4 separate regions of the Homo sapiens genome follow, and regions 1, 3 and 4 are each linked to region 2. The links are contacts of gene promoters, found by promoter capture Hi-C in blood cells and fetal thymus (Javierre and others, 2016). All regions are on one chromosome and are shown on one strand. Each heading gives the region's core, a stretch centred on a gene start or on the middle of the fragment in contact. The rest is flanking DNA. Distances are from core to core; before and after follow the strand shown.

Evidence for each region. The method cuts DNA at HindIII sites, captures the fragments that hold promoters and counts their contacts. A CHiCAGO score of 5 or more calls a contact.
Region 1: a fragment that was not itself captured here is called in contact with the fragment with the promoter of SPINT1 in region 2 in 1 of 17 cell types (total B cells); the score reaches 5.3 in total B cells.
Region 3: a contact is called between a fragment that was not itself captured here and the fragment with the promoter of SPINT1 in region 2, in 2 of 17 cell types (endothelial precursors and M1 macrophages). The highest score is 6.2, in endothelial precursors.
Region 4: a fragment that was not itself captured here is called in contact with the fragment with the promoter of SPINT1 in region 2 in 1 of 17 cell types (endothelial precursors); the score reaches 5.3 in endothelial precursors.

What each region holds. Positions count from the first base shown.
Region 1 is chr15:41,253,047-41,255,824 of GRCh38, reverse strand. All of the region lies in intron 2 of CHP1 (calcineurin like EF-hand protein 1), which reads right to left. Among named protein-coding and RNA genes, the nearest start is that of CHP1, 23 kb to the right of the region's middle. The HindIII fragment of the contact is 164 bases long and covers 1,332-1,495 here.
Region 2 is chr15:40,842,708-40,845,407 of GRCh38, reverse strand. It overlaps SPINT1 (serine peptidase inhibitor, Kunitz type 1), which reads right to left and starts at 1,360. Exons shown (of 11, transcript NM_003710.4): 1 at 1,222-1,360; 2 at 379-918. The coding sequence starts at 853. It overlaps SPINT1-AS1 (SPINT1 antisense RNA 1), which reads left to right and starts at 884. Exons shown (of 2, transcript NR_146468.1): 1 at 884-1,229. RefSeq lists silencers at 679-918, 1,209-1,268, 1,349-1,578, 1,740-1,922 and an enhancer at 1,216-1,787. The HindIII fragment of the contact is 21,246 bases long and covers 1-2,700 here.
Region 3 is chr15:40,584,771-40,587,551 of GRCh38, reverse strand. No RefSeq gene overlaps it. Among named protein-coding and RNA genes, the nearest start is that of TRS-GCT4-2, 7.7 kb to the left of the region's middle. The HindIII fragment of the contact is 2,698 bases long and covers 55-2,752 here.
Region 4 is chr15:40,516,521-40,519,220 of GRCh38, reverse strand. No RefSeq gene overlaps it. Among named protein-coding and RNA genes, the nearest start is that of CHST14, 47 kb to the right of the region's middle. The HindIII fragment of the contact is 582 bases long and covers 1,142-1,723 here.

The sequences.
Region 1 (2,778 bases), core at 164-2,663, 410 kb before region 2:
AGGCTGGTCTTGAACTCCTGACCTCAGGTGATCTGCCGGCCTCGGCCTCCCAAAGTGCTGGGTGGGATTACAGGAGTGAGCCACGGTGCCCAGCCCTAATATTGAACCTTTTGAATGAAAGTTACTCTCCCCCAAATTCTTTATTTTTATTTTTTTGAGATGGAGTTTCGCTCCCAGGCTGGAGTGTAGTGGCTTGATCTCTGGGTTCACTGCAACCTCCTCCTCCCGGGTTCAAGCGATTCTACTGCTTCAGTCTCCCAAGTAGCTAGCATTACAAGCGGGTGCTACCATGCCCGGCCAATTTTTGTATTTTTAGTAGAGGTGGGGTTTTACCACATTGGCCAGGCTGGTCTTGAACTCCTGACCTCAGGTGATCCACCCACCTCAGCCTCCCAAAGTCCTGGGATTACAGGCGTGAGCCACCGCACCCAGTCCCCCAATTTTTCAATAAGTATTTTTTAAAAACTTTCTTTTGTTGGTTCCTGGGCCAAGAATACAAAGCTGTCTACAACTTATCTGTGCTGCAGTCTTCAAAAATATCAATGTCATGGAGGACAAAGAAAAGCAGAGGATTGTTCCAGATCAAGGGGGGGCTAAAGAGACACACAACAAAACCCAACACATGATCCCGGACTAGGAAAAAAACTGCTATAAGGACATTATTGGATAATATGTGAAAATGAAGCATGGACCATATAAAATATGGAATATTACATAATGGTACTGTTTCAAAATGCAACTTTCTTGATTTTGATCTGAGAATGTCCTTTCTATAGGAAATAAACAGTGAAGTATGTGACAAAATGTTAACAATTGGTGAATCTGGGTATCAGAATAAAAGTTATCTTGTATTGTTCTTGTAACTTCAAGTTTAAAATTATTTCCAGATAAAAAGTTAAAAAAAAGATTATAAACTAGATTTTACTCCTGCCTTCAAGAAGTTTACTTACAGACAGATAAAATGTATACCTCCACCCTCTTTGTAATATATGCTAGCAAAGACGGAAGATAATAAAATACTCCTACTGTACCCAGGAGACTTCACGCTCTTTTCCTCTTGTGGTTTAACGTTTACGTGGTGCTTAATTAACTCAGCAAGCTCTTCTCCACCACATTTGGTGACACAGGTAGAAACTGACCTAGTGGACTGAACACAAAGCTCTGGAACAATCATCCTGGATTCTAGTCCTTCTTGACCATTTAGTGTAATAATTTTATATCAATGCATGAACCAGAAGAAGTCATTCATAAGATAACTGGATTGCTTAAGATGATGAAAGAGAAAATTACCGAGGTCCTGATTATTTAATTCAACAAACATGTACTAAGCTTTTATTACATAATTTGTTCTGTAATACAAAGTCTACACTATCATCAAAATGTAGCTCCTCCTGTCTGACAGAGGTCAAGAAACAATAACTACTCACTTTTAAATTAAGACTAAGGCTGATTTGAATTGCATGGCTACATACTTCAGTTTAATGTCTAACAAGCTTAAGAAACTTTAGCTGAGAAAAGGCAGTTTAAATACCAAGTCTAGTATCAAGTGGTGATGCACAACCTAGCCTGAACTTCAGTCTCAATAAGGAGGTGTACACTTGGCCTTCCGATGGACCTGTCCTTTGATACTTTCTAACTCTACTCTTAGAATTTAGATTGTATATATAATGTAGTTCCAGTCACCCAGATCAAGGACAGTATTGCTAAAAGTATTAAAGTTAAAAAGAAAGAGGGCTGGGTATGGCAGCTCAGCCTATAATCCCAGCACTTTTGGAGGCCAAGGTGGAAGAACTGCTTCAGGCTAGGAGTTCGAGACCAGCCTGGGCAACAGAGCAAGACCACATCTCTAAAAAGTTTAAAAAAAAAAAAAAAATTAGCCAGGCATGGTGGCACGTGCCTGTAGTCCCAGCTACTTGGGAAGCTGAAGCGGGAGGATTGTTTGAGCCTAGAAGGTCAAGGCTGCAAGGAGCCATGGTAACATCACTGCCCTCGAGCCTGGGTGACAGAGTGAGACCCTGTTTCAAAACAGAAAAAACAAAACAAACAGAAAGAGTATAAAAAATAATTTGTCAGCCGGGCGCAGTGGCTCACACCTGTAATCCCAGCACTTTGGGAGGCCGAGGCGGGAGGATCATGAGGTCAAGAGATGAAGACCAACCTGGCTAACACGGTGAAACCCCGTCTCTACTAAAAAAACAAAAAATTAGCTAGGCGTGGTGACGGGCACCTGTAGTCCCAGCTACTCGGGAGACTGAGGCAGGAGAATGGCATGAACCTGGGAGGTGGAGGTTGCAGTGAGCCAAGATTGCGCCACTGCACTCCAGCCTGGTGACAGAGCAAGACTCCGTCTCAAAATAAATAAATAAATAAATAAATAAATAAATAAATAAATAAATAAATACTTTGTCAACTGTTAAATAAATAATATACGAACAAGTTATTATTACTGGTTGCTTTATAGTAGAATGTAGATCTGGGCAGTTTCTCTAAAACTTAGATTCTCAAATTTACCCATCAACATAAACCTAATAGAAAAAAATAAATACTCCAAAGTGGCCTAAACACCACAAGCATAAGATCCATCCGAAGGCCGGGCACAGTGGCTCACGCCTGTAATCCCAGCACTTTGGGAGGCTGAGGCAGGTGGATCACGAGGTCAAGAGATCAAGACCATCCTGGCCAACATGGTGAAACCCCGTCTCTACTAAAAACACAAAAATTAGCTGGGCATGGTGGCGCGAGCCTGTAGTCCCAGCTACTCTGGAGGCTGAGAAAGGA
Region 2 (2,700 bases), core at 111-2,610:
ACCTGAGTTCAGAAGTTCAAGACCAGCCTGGCCAACATAGTGAAACCCCGTCTGTACCAAAAAAAAAAAAAAAAAAAAAAAAAAAAAAATTAGCCGGGTCTGGTAGCGGGTGCCTGTAGTTCCAGCTACTCCGGAGGCTGAGACAGAAGAATCACTTGAACGTGGAAGACGGAGGTTGCAGTGAGCAACCAGAGATTGCGCCATTGCACTCCAGCCTGGGCGACAAGAGCGAGACTCCGTCGCAAAAAAAAAGAAAGAAAAAGAAAAAAAAAAGTGAACTCTCCTTAACTCCTCTCTGATGTTCGTCTCCCCTAGGACCCCATAACCAGTCCCTTTTTTGAGTCTCTCCAAACCCATCCATCTTGGCACCCTCCTCACCTCCAAAGCCCTGGGTCCGCAGCTGGCGGTAGGAGCGGTACACTTCCCTCGTGAGGTAGTTGATGAAGCCCTCCCTGGGCGCGAACTTGCACACGAAGTTCTGCTCGTAGAGGCAGTTGATGAGGAAGCAGGCGGCGATGGCGTCCTCCCCGCGGTCGGGCTGCAGCTCCACTAGCGCCAAGTTGCAGTTCTGGGTGGTGCAGCAGGCGCGCACGCAGTCCCAGCCCCGGCGCACGGTGGGGGACTCCAGGAAGGTAGCTCCGTTGCTGACCGAGGCGTTGGTGTCCAGCACGAAGCCAGGCACCCCGGCGGTAAAGCTGTTCAGGCAGTCGGCTCCCGCGGGCAGCCCAGGGGGCGCGGGCGGTGGCCCGGCCTGGGTGCCCTGGAGGCCGAGCGTGCACAGAAGCCACAAGGCGACGGCAGGGATGCCGGCCGGGGCGAGGCGGGCGCGGGCCATCGTCCTCGCAGGGGCCATCGCCTTCCTCCCCAGGGGGGTCACCTTCAGAGCGCGGGCCTCTGGGTTCCGAGGGTGCTGGTGACCTGAGAAGAAGGGAGGGGACAGAGGAGGAGACACACCTGATCAGCCCGGGAGACTTTGGAGGAGGCGGGCCGGCCGGGAGGAAGTGGCGGGGAGGAGGGACCGGAGCACCCCAGGATCGAAGAGGGCGCACGGGCCCGGCCCTCCCACGCGCCCTCCAGGGACCCGGCAGCCAGACAGACGGACAGGCGGACCGCTAGGGAGCTCAAGTACCCGGACACACGCACGAGCGCAGAACAAAGGGCCGGACATGCTCCAGCCCGCTCCGCCTGCGCCTCGGCCTTGCGCGCGGGGGCCCGGGTTACCTGCGCAGGTGAGTTGGGTGGGGCCGGGTCCGCCGAGGTTCCGGTCCCAGCTTCCTGCGCGGCTCGGGTCGCGGCTTCCGACCCGGTGCTCGGAGAGCTGGGGCTCGGCCGCCTTCTCCCCCTGGTTTCTGGTGAAACTGAGTCAGCGCCGTCGGGGCGGGGCCGACATTCACCCTTGCGCTGCCGGCCCCGCCCACGCCCGGTGCGCTGCGGCCGCCTCTAGCGCGGAGCTCCAGGCCCGGCCCGCCCCGCGGCCCCGCAGCCCCGGTGCCTCCCCGGCAGCCAGCTCCCCGGAGGGGCTCTCGGGCTCCACCCAGTCCAGCCTCGCGAGGGAGCCCCGCGCCCGAAGCGCATACCCAGCCGGGAGGGGATGCGGCCGGGACGCGAGGGTCCGGCCTCTGGGGCGGCGGCCTCCAGTCTTCCTTTCCGGCCGGGGCCTGCTTTCCCAGCCCCAGACCTGAGGCCCGATGCAAATGATCTTTCCGGCCCTCAGGAAATCATTTCCATTTCGTGGCGGGAAGGTAACCCAAAAGTTGCGTGGCTGCACCTGTGATAACAGGGATCCGGGATGTCTGCCTCACTGTCAGCTCCGGGAAGCCCTCCCTGCTGTCAGGGTGAGAAACGGAGGCGATTCCCCGCGTCCAGGCTCCCCTGCGTGCTCCACGGGGCTTCCCTGTTGTTCGAGGCCCCTCCTCATCTTGTATGTACAGTTCGGTCCATTCCCTGCTATGGCTCATTGGACTGTTGCCCCCTTCCCTGGAGCCCAGGCTTCCTCTCTTTCACAAAGGGGACGCTGCTGGCTACTTTCTTCCAGGGAAATGTCATCCTTGGAAGCCTGGAGGTTCCAGTTCACCAAGTAGCTGAGTTAATGCCCTTCACGAAACAGTGGACTCCTTGAAGCCAAGCTCATTGCTCCTCCTGAGTAAAAAACTCTTAAGAGACCATTCTCTACGGCAAGGGTCTGAACAGGTGAAAGACAGATGAAGGCAGGGCTGGAGGAAGGAATCACATAGCATGCTCTCTTAAAATACAGATTCCAAACCTTTTCCTGATGGCTTAACAACCCCCAAACCAATGGGAACATTCTTCCCAGTTTCTCATCCAGAGCAGCTTTGCCTAGCAGATCCTGTGGCCAACCCTTGGATTTTGCTGAACTGCAACATCCTCCAGCTGCTCACATGATGCGTGTTGGGGTGGGAATCTGGGGCCTGTCTCCCCTTCTCTGGATGTTTAGGGTTTATCCACAGACCCTGGCACACTGGTGGATATACAACAATGGTGGTATGCTGGGAATGAAGAAAATGATTGTGCAGTCACTGGGAAGAAAGGGTTTTGTTGTGATTTGATTTCCCCTTATGGCTAACACATTCAAGAATCTTTATTTATTTATTTATTTATTTTTTTTTTTTTTTTTTTGAGACGGAGTCTTGCTCTGTCACCCAGGCTGGAGTGCAATGGCACGATCTCGGCTCACTGCAA
Region 3 (2,781 bases), core at 154-2,653, 260 kb after region 2:
TTTTGCTTCAGTTGTGATTCTGGAAGATTTGGCATTTAGATCAGATATAAAGCTTTCCTTTTAAAATTCCTAACCTACTTTAACTTCAACATTTGGAATGTTGGAAAGAAAAAAGAACCAGAATAATTGCATCACTTATTATTTACTTGAATTACTAAAACATTTTCAAGAACCTTTTGTCTAGATGTCTTGGTAATGAAGAGATAGAAGATGCAAGTTCTTGGGCTCTTTGTGTCGGAGAGCATGCGGGGTCTAGAATTCCAAAGCCATGAACTGCTTTTAGATCCCTCAGTTCTTTTATGATGGAGAAGTTGTATTTGAATCTGCTAAGGCAAATTAAAGCAGTTAGTCATTTTTGCAAATTATTATTATTATTATTTTTGAAACGGAGTCTTGCTCTGTCGCCCAGGCTGGAGTGCACTGGCGCTATCTCAGCTCACTGCAAGCTCCACCTCCTGGGTTCATGCCATTCTCCTGCCTCAGCCTCCCTAGTAGGTGGACTACAGGCGCCCGCCACCATGCCTGGCTAATTTTTTTTTTGTATTTTTAGTAGAGACAGGCTTTTACCGTGTTAGCCAGGATGGTCTCGATCTCCTGACCTCATGATCCGCCCACCTCAGCCTCCCAAAGTGCTGGGATTATAGGTGTGAGCCACCAAGCGCCTGGCCCATTTTTGCAAATTATTAATTATTGCTTACCATTATAGTCTCCAAAATACTAGGTGTATGGTGTTATCTTTCCACCACTGGTGAAAACAACCCATGGTCTAGGCACTTTGGAGTAGCACCCACCAGCTGTGTGAAGGTCAAATGGATCTTAAAGAGTTGTGCAGTGGGACTGAAAGAGGAGAGTCACTATTTCAGAGATAACCAAATGTTAAAAAAAAGAGGTGAGATATTTTAATATTTGTTGTTTAAAAGTTTTATCTTGATAGTATTACACAATTATACAATACATACATACGTAATGTAATATGCATGTACAGTTTAAAAATAACAATAATAAGGCCAGGTGCAGTGGCTCACACATGTAATCCCAGCACTTTGGGAGGCCAAGGTTGGGGACGATCGCTTGAGGCCAGTAGTTCGAGACCAGCCTAGGTAACACAGTGAGACTCTGTCTCTACAAAATATTAAAAATTAGCCAGGTGTGGTGGTATGCACCCATATTCTCAGCTACTCAAGAGGCTCAAATGGGTGAATCACTTGAGCCCAAGAGTTCCAGACAGGCCTGGGAAACATGGCAAAACCCTGTCTCTACCAAAAATGCAAAAATTAGCTGGGTGTGCTGGTGTGTGCTGCGGTCCCAGCTACTCAGGAGGCTGAAGTGGGAGGATCACTTGAACCTGGGAGGTCGAGAGTACAGTGAGCCATGATCGTGCCACTGCAATCCAGCCTGGGCAACAGAGCAGGACCTTGTCTCCGAAAAAAAAAAGAAAGAAAGAAAGAAAGAAAAAAACAGCAATGCTGTATATACACCACCCAGCTTGAGAAATAGAACATTACCAGCCCCTTTGTTTCTTTTTTAAAAAATGATTTTTAATTATTTTAATTTTTTTTTCCTACCCTCTTGGCAGGTGGCAGATTACTAGCACCTTTGATGCTTCCTGTGTGTCCCTTCCTGGAGGCATCCTCCCACCAAAAAGATAACTACTTTGGCCGGGCACAGTGGCTCACGCCTGTAATCTCAGCACTTTGTGAGGATGAGGCAGGCAGACCACGAGGTCAGGAGTTTGAGACCAGCCTCACCAATATGGTGAAACCCTGTCTCTACTAAAAAAAAAAAAAATACAAAAAATTAGCCAGGCGTGGTGGCGGGCGCCTATAATCCCAGCTACTCGGGAGGCTGAGGCAGGAGAATCGCTTGAACCTGGGAGGCGGAGGTTGCAGTGAGCCAAGATCCCGCCACTGCACTCCAGCCAGGGAGACAGAGTGAGACTCCATTTCCAAAAAAAAAAAAGGTAACTACTTTTTGTTTGTTTGTTTGTTTGTTTGTTTGAGACGGAGTCACACTCTGTCGCCCCCGGCTGGAGTGCAGTGGCGCGATCTCGGCTCACTGCAAACTCCGCCTCCCGGGTTCATGCGATTCTCCTGCCTCAGCCTCCCGAGAAGCTGGGATTGCGGTGCATGTCACCACGCCTGGCTAATTTTTTGTATTTGTAGTAGAGACGGGGTTTCACCGTGTTAGCCAAGATGGTCTCGATCTCCTGACCTCGTGATCCACCTGCCTTGGCCTCCCAAAGTGCTGGGATTACAGGCGTGAGCCACCGTGTCTGGCAAAGATAACAACTTTTCTGAATTTCATGTTAATCATTCTCTTGTTTTTCTTACCAAATATACATATTTATACATATTTGTAGTCTTAAATATGTTTTGTCTGTTTTTTAATTTTATATAATGTATTCATTTTATATAACGTATTCATCTGTAACTTCTGTCACTGGACACTGTTTTATCCGTATAATTCGTTCATTTTCACTGCTGATTAGTTTGCAATTATCTGAACATACAATTAGGTATCCATTCTCTTATTGATGGATATTTTTGTTATCTCCAGTCTTTTGCTGCAAGAACACTGCTGTGACTGTTTTTATATGTCTCTTGGGGCACATGTACAAGTGTTTCTGTAGGTAGATAGCTAGAAGTAGAGTCATTGGTTATGTGTGTGTTCAACTTTAGTAGGCAATTCTTAACTGTTTTCACCTAGTTAATGGTTGACAAAAATGTTGCAGTTTTGAAAACGTGGACAAGCTTCAAATGAAAAGAAGAGGATGACAGAGGA
Region 4 (2,700 bases), core at 183-2,682, 330 kb after region 2:
CAGGAATGAGCCACCACACCCGGCCCACAACATAATTTTTGATGGCTGTATTGTATTCCTTTCTTTGGGTGACTGGGCCATAGTTTATTTAACCAACTATTGTTGGAACACTTAAATTATACCCATTTTTTTTTCACTGAAGTAAATAATGCTGGGATGAACTTCCTTGTTGCTGAATCTTTACAGAAATCCACGGTTCTTTTCTTAGTTAAATTCCCAAGACAAAGTGGATATGAAGTTTGTAAGGTGTTTCATATAATACAGTATATTAGTTAAGACTTTCCAGAAAGGCTTAATTAGGAGGCTTTCTACCTTATTTATTTATTTTTAATTTTTTTGAGACGGGGTCTCACTTTGTGCAGTAGCGTGATCATAGCTCACTACAGCTTCAAATTCGTGGGCTCAAGTGATCCTCCTGCCTCAGCCTCCCACAGTGCTGGGAGTTTGAGGCTACAGTGAGCTATGATCGTGGCACTGCACTCCAGCCTGGTTGACAGACTGAGACGCTGTCTCTAAAAAAATTAAGATAAAATAAAATAAAAATTAAGGGCTTTCTCCTCATATGTTAGTGGAGATTAAACCAATAGAGAAAATTATAACGATTTAAAAAATACTATAAGTTCAGAAACATTTTATTCTTTTTCAAAATAATTTTTCTTTTTCTCCTCATGTTACTTTGTTTAAGATAAATTCAGAAACATTTTAAAGTGAGCTTTATTTATTTATTTATTTATTTTTTGAGACCAAGTCTCGCTCTGTTGCCCAGGCTGGAGTGCAATGGTGCAGTCTCGGCTCACTGCAACCTCCGCCTCCTGGGTTCAAGGGATTCTCCTGCCTCAGCCTCCTGAGTAGTGGGATTAATGGCGCCCACCACCATGACTGGCTAATTTTTCTGATTTTAATAGAGACGGGGTTTTACCATGTTGGTCAGGCTGGTATTAAACTCCTGACCTCGTGATCCACCCCGCCTCAGACTCCCAAACTGCTGGGATTACAGGTGTGAGGCCACTGCACTCTGCCGCTTTATTTTTATTAATCACAACTACACCTATATACTTCTCCTATTTTTTTATTTTTACGAATTTTAAAAACAGCAAATTTGAAGGAATAGTATTAACACCCCTCCACTCTCCACCAAGCTTCAACATTTTAGGCATTATACAACTTTGCTCTCTCTCTTTATAAATATATATATATATTTTGAGATGGAGTTTCTCTCTTGTTGCCCAGGCTGGAGTGCAATGGCGCAATCTCGGCTCACCACAACATCCGCCTCCTGGGTTCAAATGATTCTCCTGCCTCAGCCTCCCGAGGAGCTGGGATTTCAGGCATGCGCCACCACGCCCAGCTGATTTTGTATTTTTAGTGGAGACAGGGTTTCTCCATGTTGGTCAGACTGGTCTTGAACTCCCGACCTCAGGTGATCTGCCCACCTCGGCCTCTCAAAGTGCTGGGATTATAGGCATGAGCCACCATGCCCAGCCATGAATACTTTTTTGCTTAACCTTTTGAAAGTAAATTGCAAATGTTATGTCACTTCACCTCTGAATATATTTGCATGTATCTCCTAAAAGAGGGACATTCCCCTACATAACTACAAAATCATTATCATGCCTAAAAAGTTAACAATAATTCTCTAATATCATCTAATATTTAGTTTATATAACATTTTACCCAATTGTCCCTAATTATAGATTTTTAAAAATCAGATTCAATCCAAGCTTATGAATTGTTGTATCCTTTAAGCTGGAAGAGTCGCTTCTTTCTTTTTCTATAACATTGTCTTTTTGAAGACTCCAGGCCAGCTTTCTTACAGAATGTTCCACATTTTGGATTGAGTGAGTGTTTCTTCATGGTGTTGTTTAACTTGTTCCTCTGGCCCTCTCTGTTTTCTGTAAATTGGAAGGTTGGTGCAGAGAACCTGTATAAAATAATTCTACCGGCTGGGTGCGGTGGCTCACACCTGTTATCCCAGCACTTTGGGATGCCGAGGCGGGTGGATCACCTGGGGTCAGGAGTTCCAGACCAGTGTGGCCAACATGGTGAAACCCCGTCTCTACTAAAAATACAAAAAATTAGCCAGGCGTGGTGGCAGGCGCCTGTAATCCTAGCTACTCAGAAGGGGCAGGGGAATTGCTTGAACCTGGGAGGCGGAGGTTGCAGTGAGCCGAGATCGCACCACTGCACTCCAGCCTGGACAACAAGAGTGAAACTCTGTTTCAATTAAAAAAAAAAAAGAATTCTACCATAGTTGGTTGCATTATTGGTTCTGATTTATTCTATCCTTTCCTGTGAGGTGATTATACGTCCTCTCCTTTTGCTATGTGACTTGCGGCACTCCTTTTTAGGAGGAATACACTTCACTGTCCCATTAATGGCGGGCATGGTCACACGACTTGAGGTGGCCAATAAATGTAAGTGGAAATGACTATGCTTTTCCCTGCAGAAGGTTTAAGAACTATGGCAGACTTCTATCACTTTCCTTTTCCCTCTGCCATGAGGATTACATATTTCAAATAGAGGCTACATCTTCTGCCCAGATCCCAGAATGGAGAGGACAACACAGAGCAGAACCACCAATGACCACAGCCGACATAAAATGTGCATAAGAAATAAACCCTTCTTACTGTAAGCCACTAAGAGTTTTGGGTTATTTGTTACTACAGTGTAACTCAGAGAAAGCTAATTAAAATATAAACA